3 separate regions of the Homo sapiens genome follow, and regions 1 and 3 are each linked to region 2. Evidence: promoter capture Hi-C in human tissues and cell types (Jung and others, 2019). All regions are on one chromosome and are shown on one strand. The core of a region is centred on a gene start or on the middle of the fragment in contact, and the rest is flanking DNA. Distances in the headings are between cores, read along the strand shown.

Region 1 (2,977 bases), core at 465-2,964, 700 kb after region 2:
CAAGTGATGAACAAATATCCCCCCAAAGTTCAAAATGTTACTCTGGCCTCGGAATGCATATAAAGACTGCTTTAGATGGGCTGATTCCAATCACCTAGAAAGGGCAGCCGGAACCACTATGCAGGCAGCCTTCTTTGGAAATTTCTTACAATCAACTCTTGAGAACCATCCGTGATTGTGGACAATGGCTCTAAGGTCCAAACAACTTCTGTTCTTTCATCTCACGAGCTAGGCTCAGAGGAGGCATTTGAACTGTCAGGAGCAAGAACAGCAGCTGTGGCCCCACGAGGCAGGACTTCAATAACTCGCGGCTTGTCAATGATCCGGGCCGTTCGGTTTCCCTTTTCCACAATGCCAACGATCCACGCTTGGTGACCCTCTCCGTACTTGGAGGATTTGATTTCAGAACAAAAGCGAGCCGCCTGTTCTCTTGGCAGACAAATCAGTAATCCCCCAGAGGTTTCAGCTGAGGTTCCTTGAAGAAGCCCAAACCGTCCACTGGCCTTGCTGACGGCAGCCATCTTGGCAATTATTGGCAGATTATGAATAACAAAGGACACTTCATTTCTTTGTTGTTTTGCAAGGTTCTGGGAGTGTCCTAGAATGCCAAAGCCTGTGATATCTGTGGCCGCATGGGCATTAAATGTGTGCATTAAACCTGCAGCAGTTCTGTTGAGGGTAGCCATATTGAACATGGCTTCCTGATAGGCCAGCTCCACCTCTTCTCTGGAGACCACCATCTTTACTTTATTCCATCTTTCAGGATTATCCAGCCATTGGTGGGCATTGACAGCAACCTGGGTTCCTAACGGTTTGGTTAACACCAGCACGTCCCCAACGACGGCGCTGTCCGGCATTATGAACTCATTTGGTTGGCATACTACAGTGGCAACTCCACCGATTATAATCCAAGGGTTGACCACCGTTTGCCCACCGGTCACTGCCGTCCCTCCTTCCTCAGCCGCATCCCGAAAGCCTTTGACCATGAGTGGCGTTACCTTTTCGCGTTCCTCCTCACTCATACTCTGGCTGACGCTGAGTAACATCAACATGTTGTCACACTCAGTAATCCCCATGGCGTAGAGGTCACTCAGCACGTTGGCACAAGCTATGCGCCCCATCATGTAGGGATCTTCTACCAAGGGGTAAAAGAAGTCCGTGGTCTGCACCAGTGACAGGCCCCCGTGCCTCAGGGGGATGACGCAGGAGTCCATCCCGATGCCCAGGGCTGGAAAGGTGGGGCTGGGGCCCGCTCCTGCCGGCAGGCCGGCTTCCTGGGACGCCTCTTCCTGGCCACCCACCAGGCCCCGGCCCAGCGGGGGCCGCACGTCCGGCCGCGTCAGTCCCGCCAGGAGTTTGAGCAGCGCCTCCTGCGGGACCTTGCAGCCTCAGCCCTTCATGCCGGAGAAGCCCGTCAGCCGCCAGCTCGGGCTGAGGCCCAACGCCTGGGGCTCGAAGGGCCGGTAGTTCGAGAAGCTCCGGCCCAGAGTCAAGCCCGCCGGGCCCGAGGAGCCTTCCGCCGCTGCCATCGCCTCTCCGCAGGCGCCCGTCGCCGAGGCTTCCGCCATGGCGCCTGCCCGGCAGGGAAGCGAGAGGAGAAGAGGGCCCTTTTATTTTCCACTCAGATTAATATGAAGCAAAAGTCAAATATTACCTGCAGGGATTCTCCCTAGCGCTACTCAAGCCGTCAGACCCACGGCATGCACAATCTTCCTGATAGAGGAGCCGCCGGACTCCCTTATTTATAGCCCTGGCGATTGACAGCCGCAACATCCAATGACGACTCCGCCACCGAGAGGCGGGCTTCCTAGACTCTAAAAGGTGCAACAACCTCCGGCTTGCAAAACCGCTTGCAACGGGATTGCAGAACGTCACGTGCTTTCCTTCGCTCTCTTAGTAATTTAAATGGTTTCTTGGCAGTGGCTGACGGAACTCTGCTCCCTTCCAGTCACTTTTCCAAGTCCAGCAAATTGTAGACGAGGGAAGATTGGTCACTCGGCAAACCTCATGATCGGCAGGATTGTCCCAAAGGTCACTTGACAGCGCACATGATCGATCCAGGATGGCAAAATAGCCCAAGGGAAAAAACAGAAAGCATGAGAAATTAGAAATTAAACTACTACCATTAAGTTAGCAAACTGCAGGCAGCATCAATATAATGAAATGTTAACAGGAACTTCAAGAACTCTAGGACTCAGGAGGTCGAGGCTGCAGTGAGCTGCGTCCGCGCCACTGCACTCTAGTCTGGGCGACAGAGCAAGAACCTGTCTCTAAAACAAACAACAATAACAAACAAACAAACACCCCCCCCACACACACAGACACACACAAAAAGAGAGATTTAGGACTGGAAGTCCAGACACCTGCATGGATTCTAATGGTGTTTCCCACCAGCTTTGTGTGGAGTCACTCTCCGCGTCGGTTGACTCATCCATCTGTGGAACAGAGTGGGTTACATAGGACTGGTCTATTCTAAAATTCCTATATCTCTGTAAATAAATATATATATATATCTTATATAGCCATGAAGGGCAGTTTGCCAATATCTATTAAAAACTCCACCTCCCAGGTTCAAGTGATTCTCCTGCTTCAGCCTCCTGAATAGCTGGGATTACAGGTGTGCGCCACCACACCCGGCTTATTTTTGCGTTTTTAGTACAGACGGGATTTCACCACGTTGGCCAGGCTGGTCTCAAACTCCTGACCTCAAGTGATCTGCTGGCCTCGGCCTCCCAAAGTGCTGGGATTACAGGCATAAGCCACCACACCCAGCCAATAAAAACTTTTTTAAAAGACAAGAAAATGAATAGAAGACTCAGCATAGGGGCTATGTCTAGGGAGGGCTACATAGGGAGCTTCTGGGCTATGTTTAATTCTGTTCATTGGGCTGGTGGTGGGTACGTGGTACATGGTTGTTCTTTAAACTGTACATAGATATTTTCGGGGCCGGGCACAGTGGCTCACACCTGTAATCCCA
Region 2 (3,005 bases), core at 161-2,660:
TGGGGCTGTTGCTCGGGCCTCCAAAGTGCCCACCTGGGTGGGAGGCTCAGGGGCCCGATCTGTCAGCAGGGGGACCGCAGAGCCATACCAGTCCTCAGAGCGCTCTCGGGCGGTGCCCATGGGCTCAATCCACAGCTCTCCTCCTGGGCGCCACACCAGGGTGGGTGCACGGTGGCTGGGGTCTGGGCGGAGAGCACGGCGGAACAGGCGTTCAGCCAACACAGCGGTGGTGAGGATGAAGAGCGCAGCCAGGGTGGCCAGGACCAGCATGATGGGGATGCAGGGCCCACAGGGCAGTGAGGGCCATGGGGCTGCTTCCCATGCGGGGGGCCCCTCCACGCGCCCAGAGGGCGGCTCTGGAGTCAACGGCATCTGAGAGACACAGGGGTGAGAAGAGGAAGTAAATGAGGCAGAGGGGGCACAACCAAGATGAGAGAGAGGCAGCAGGTGTCCAGGAAAGCCTGGGAGAAGGGCTGGGCATGGGGGCTCATGCCTGGAATCCCAGCACTTTGAGAGGTCGAGGCGGGAGGATCACTTGAGCCCAGGAGTTCAAGACCAGCCTGGACACACAGTGAAACCTCATCTCTAAAAATAATTTAAAAACTAGCTGGGTGTGGTGGCTCACACCTGTAGTCCCAGCTACACAGGAAGCTGAGGTGGGAGGATTACTTGAGCCCAGGAGTTTGAAGCTGCAGTGACCCCAGATTGCACCACTGTCCTCCAGCCTGGGCAATAGAGCAAGACCCTTTCTCAAAAATGAAAAAGAACATTCTGGAGAGACAGAGAAGCAAGAGGGACCAGAAAGGGTAAGCGTGAGCCAGGTGGGGTGGGAGGACAGGCAGCCTACCTCGGGGCACAGCCAGGCCCTCCTGCCTGGCTCTCCAGGCCTTTCCAGAATCCCCATTTCCCTCCCAGACCCCAGGGTGCCTCAGACAAGAAAGGTCTCAAGGGCTTCTTTCCTCCCCACTCGGCCCCCTCAAGTCTTGCTCAGACCTAGAGAGGAAGTGGTGGGTGAAGAAATGAGAACCTCCCCTCCCACTGGCTCCCCTGCGTGTGTCTCCCCCACCGCCTGCCGCCAGCACCTCCGCTGGCCCCTTGAGGCTCCTTCGCCCCTCACCATTCTCCTCGGACTTGATCTTGCTCTCATAGGCTCCACGGAATCTGCTGCCGGGCCGGGCCGGGCCAGGCCTCCGGAGGCGCCTCTGCACCCCTCCTGGGCTCCCCAGCTTTGCCCAGGCTCTGGCCTGTCTCTATCTCTCGTTTGTCTCTGCACACCTCTCTGTCCCCCACATCCTCCATCTGCAGGGGGCCTCCTGCACCCCTCAACTCACCTTGGGTCAGTCCCTGGGCTCCTCTCCCTCCTAGAGCCACTCTTCCTGGTGCTGGACTAAGAGGTGCAGGCTTGGAGGGTGCAGGGCGGTCCGCCTCTCAGACGTAGAGGCCCGGCCTCGGATGAAGGCGGAAGGGAGGGCACCGCCTGTTGCTGGGCAACTGTGCCCCAACTCGTCTGCCCCTGGGGAGTGTTTGTTTCCAAAGCAACCCAAGGGGATGTGGTCACTGCGGTGAGGAGGCTTTTCCTGGGGTAAGGTGGGGCTGGAATGGGCAATGGTTCTGTTGAACTTAGTGTCACCCCATAGCCAGGCCCTGAGCCCCAGAACATTCACCGAAAAGCTGAGAAAGAGGACGCCGGGGCCAGGCACAGTGGCTCACCCCTGTAATCCCAGCATTTTGGGAGGTCAAGGTGGGCAAGTCACCTGAGGTCAGGAGTTCGAGACCAGCCTGCCAACATGGCGAAACCCCATCTCTACTGAAAAATACAAAAATTAGCTGGGCATGGTGACGGGCACTTGTAATCTCAGCTGCTCAGGCGGCTGAGGCAGGGAGAATCGCTTGAACCCGGGACTCGGAGGTTGCAGTGAGCTGAGATCGTGCCACCACACTCCAGCCTGGGCAACAGAGTGAGACTCCGTCTTAAAAAAAAAGAAAAGAAAAGAAAAGAAAAAGAAATAGGACACTGGGACTTTAGCCCGTACATTCCCAGAGAACCATGGTGCCTCCCCCGTTCCTCCTGGGAGGATGCCCCACCCCATCCTGCCTTGTCTTATCCACGGTGCCTCCCCAGATCTGCTCCTGCCATGCAGCCCCCACAGGCACCCCCTGCTTGGCCAGCTTGCTTCACACCTTTTTTTTTTTTTTCTGGTAGAGATGGGCTCTTGCTATGTTGCCCAGGCTGGTCTCAAGCTCCTGGCCTCAAGAGATCCTCCTGCCTCAGCCTCCCAAAGTGCTGGGATTACAGGTGTGAGCTACCACACTGGCCCCTGCCTCATACTTTTAATTAACATAAGTCTCTCTCTCTTCAGACCATTTAGCCCCCATTTTGGTTGGAAAATATCAGTGAGGTGAGGCTTGGGTAACAAAAATGTCAAGCCTCTGAGAGGAGTCCAGGGTATAAAAACAGGCGTGGGCCTGTTTCCAAAACCCTGACCATCCTCATGTCTGTCCCTCTTTCCTGCTGCTGAGGGTGGGAGGAGCCTGGAGCAGAGTGTGACAAGATGTCATCAGGCTCTGGAGTCCAGGTGACTTTCTGAGATTCTCTAGTTTGACTCATCCACAGATGACAAAAGTAAGGCTTAAAGAAAAGAGATTTCATGACCAAAGTCGCATGACCAATGTATGTGTGGGTGAGCATGTAGTGGCCAGGGTGGTGGAAGAATAGATAGAAATCCCTGGGCTGGGCGAGGTGGCTCATGCCTGTAATCCCAGCACTTTGGGAGACCGAGGCGGGTGGATCACCTGAGGTCAGGAGTTTGGGAGCAGCCTGGCCAACATGGCAAAACCCCGTCTCTACTAAAAATACAAAAATTAGCCGGGCGTGGTGCCGCACGCCTATGACCCCAACTACTCAGGAGGCTGAGGCAGGAGAATCGCTTGAACCCGGTGCAGTGAGCCGAGATCGTGCCATTCCACTCCAGCCTGGGCAACAGAGCGAGACTCTGTCTCAAAAT
Region 3 (2,833 bases), core at 12-2,511, 730 kb before region 2:
GGCCACTGGCTTGGCCCTAACTGTCCCTTCCTCTCTGTTCACCAGCACCTGTGATTGGCCTAGTCCAGGCTCCACATCCAGGTCCAGGCTGCCTGGAGGTTGGGGAGAGAGTTCTCCCCATAAATGAAGTGGGACACAGGTCCCTCCAGAAACCACAATTGAGGCTTCTCCAATGTAATTAAGGACCATGGTGACGGAACTCTTCTCCCAGGCCTCCTCGCCCTACCTCTGGGCCTGACTCCTGTTCCACCAGCCTTGCGTGGAGCTCCTCCCACCCACCTGCTGCGTCGGGGTGAAGGGAGTCAGATCAAATCCATGGCTTGTAAACCACTCCAAGAAGCTGATTCAGGGATTCAGCAGACATTGAATGTATCGAGGCAAATATGAGGCTTTCAGGGGTTTCTGTTGACCTAGCCTTTCTCTAGGACAAATCAGTTTGTTGTTATTATTTATTAATTGATCGACTTTTTTTAGAGATGGGGTCTTGCTCTGTTGCCCAGGCTGGAGTGCAGTGGTGTGAATGATGGCTCACTGCAGCCTCAACCTCTTGGGCTCAAGTGATCCTCCTGCCTTGGCATCCCAAAGTGCTGGATTACAGGTGTGAGCCACCACGTCTGGCCATAATTTATTATTTTTTCCATAGAAAATAATGATCCATTTGAATTTGCAAAACAAGTCTACGCTGGTAAAGGTGGCCTTTTTCCCATTCCATGTATATTGGGGCTGCTGGCAGTATTTCAACCACCCACCTCCCCCACTTGCTCCCTGAGTCAGTCATGTGGGCCTTTTTGCTTCCTCGACACCCCAAAACCACCAGGCTCTTTTCTTCCTCTGGGTTTTTGCACTTGCTGTTCCCTCTGCCTGGAACTCTGCCCCCATGGCCTCACGTGGCCTCCTCCTTCCATCATGTGGATCTGGCTGAAGTTTCCTCTGCTAGGAGGAGCCTTCACCCTCCACCCCATGTAACTGTGTGTGTTCCCATCTCAGTCCCCCTGCATCTCATTACCCCATTGAATTGACTTCCTAATGCTGATCTCTTTTTTTTTTGAGATGGAGTCTGTCTGGCCCTGTTGCCCAGGCTGGAGTGCAATGGCATGATATTGGCTCACTGCAACCTCCACCTCCTGGGTTCAAGCAATCAATCCTTCTGCCCTAGCCTCCCAAGTAGCTGGGACTACAGGCATGTGCCACCATGCCTGGCTAATTTTTGTATTTTTAGTAGAGATGGGGTTTCACCATGTTGGCCAGGCTGGTCTTGAACTCCTGTCCTCATGTGATGCACCAGCCTTGGCCTCCCAAAGTGCTGGGATTACAGGCTTGAACCACCGCACCCGGCTATAACGCTGATCTCTTTATACATTTGGTGTTTTTGTCTATCCTCCTTGGGACTGTGAGCTCCCTGTTCATCTCTGTCACTCCAGGGTCCAGCAAAGAGCTTGGCACAGAGTAGCTGTTCGACAATCATGTTGAGCAAATGAATTAAAAAAGAGCTTAAGACAAACACGTGAGGCCCTTAACAACAAGTTCCTTCCAGCCCTAACACGTGGTACGTTCCCAGCCTTAGAGAAAGCACTGTCTAAAGGAGAGACTGCAAACTGATTGCTCACCAACGTGTTTAATTTTTTTAGATGCTATGGTTAAAAAAAACCCCACCACATAAGATAACATTTACCATCTTAACCATTTGTAAGTGTACAGTTCAGTAGTGTTAAGTATATTCACATCGTTGTGCAACAGATCTCTAGAACTTTTTCATCTTGCAAAAGTGTTTTTCATCTTTGCAAAACTAAAACTCCCTACCCATTAAACAACAACTCCTGGCAACTGCCAGTCTACTTTCTGTTTCTTGTTTTTGCATGTGTGTGACTGGCTTATTTCATTAGCATAATGTCCTCCAGATTCATCCATGCCATAGCGTGCGATAGGATTTCCTTCCTTTTGAAGGTTGAATAATATTCCATTGCACGGTGCTACAATTAAAAGTCCCCTCCAAAACTCATGTTTAATTGCCATCGTGATGGTATTAAGAGGTGGAATGACTGGGCGCAGTGGCTCATGCCTGTAATCCCAACATTTGGGAGGCCAAGATGGGAGGATGGCTTGGGCCCAGAAATTTGAGACCAGCTTGAGTAACATAGAGAGACCCTGTCTCTACAAAAAATTAAAAAATTAGTCAGGTGTGGTGGCACATGCCTATGGTCCCAGCTACTTGGGAGGCTGAGGTGGGAGGATGGCTTGAGCCCAGGAGGTCAAGACTGCAGTGAGCTGACATTGAGCCACTGCCCTCCAGCCAGGGCCACAGAGCAAGACACTGTCTAAAAAAAAAAAAAAAAAAAAAAAATAGATCATGTTACCAAAGTCCCAGTTTCTTGGTGCTATGAACAAAGAATCAGAGGAGACACACAGAGCAAGAAGCCAAAGTTTACTAAGCACAGTAACACACTCTCAGAGAGGGGAGAGCAGACTGACCTCTGCAAAATGAGATCAGCACCAGTTTGGTGTATTTTGAGTCTTTCAATATGTTTTCTTTCCTGAGTTGCATAATCTTTAGCAAGTAGATGACTTTTGCCTTTTGATTGATGGGTGGGGTTGTTTAATTTATTTCTCAACCTCTGTGAGCTTGTGTGTTGCCTCCATCCCATAATTTTAAGTACATGCACGATATACAGTCCACATGTGTGAGCTTTAATGACCTGATTATCATATGGGGTCCGTGGTTTTTTTTTTTTTTTCTGAAACAGAATCTCGCTCTGTCACCCAGGCAGGAGTGCAGTGGCGCAATTTCAACTCACTGCAATCTCCACCTCCCGAGTTCAAGCAATTCTCCTGCCTC

The links. Contacts are between HindIII fragments. The study calls those that stand out against the background at their distance.
Region 1: a contact is called between the fragment with the promoter of SEPHS2 here and the fragment with the promoter of C16orf54 in region 2, in 1 of the 25 tissues and cell types used here (spleen).
Region 3: a contact is called between a fragment that was not itself captured here and the fragment with the promoter of C16orf54 in region 2, in 1 of the 25 tissues and cell types used here (IMR-90 fibroblasts).

What each region holds. Positions count from the first base shown.
Region 1 is chr16:30,444,160-30,447,136 of GRCh38, forward strand. It overlaps SEPHS2 (selenophosphate synthetase 2), which reads right to left and starts at 1,715. Exons shown (of 1, transcript NM_012248.4): 1 at 1-1,715. The coding sequence starts at 1,568. The coding sequence ends at 222. RefSeq lists an enhancer at 907-1,853 and a silencer at 1,180-1,299. The HindIII fragment of the contact is 9,223 bases long and covers 1-2,977 here.
Region 2 is chr16:29,744,580-29,747,584 of GRCh38, forward strand. It overlaps C16orf54 (chromosome 16 open reading frame 54), which reads right to left and starts at 1,411. Exons shown (of 2, transcript NM_175900.4): 1 at 1,332-1,411; 2 at 1-372. The coding sequence starts at 372. LOC124903673 (a long non-coding RNA gene) reads left to right here and starts at 668. Exons shown (of 2, transcript XR_007065046.1): 1 at 668-806. RefSeq lists enhancers at 1,701-1,750, 2,278-2,347. The HindIII fragment of the contact is 21,250 bases long and covers 1-3,005 here.
Region 3 is chr16:29,011,552-29,014,384 of GRCh38, forward strand. No RefSeq gene overlaps it. Among named protein-coding and RNA genes, the nearest start is that of LAT, 28 kb to the left of the region's middle. The HindIII fragment of the contact is 6,909 bases long and covers 1-2,833 here.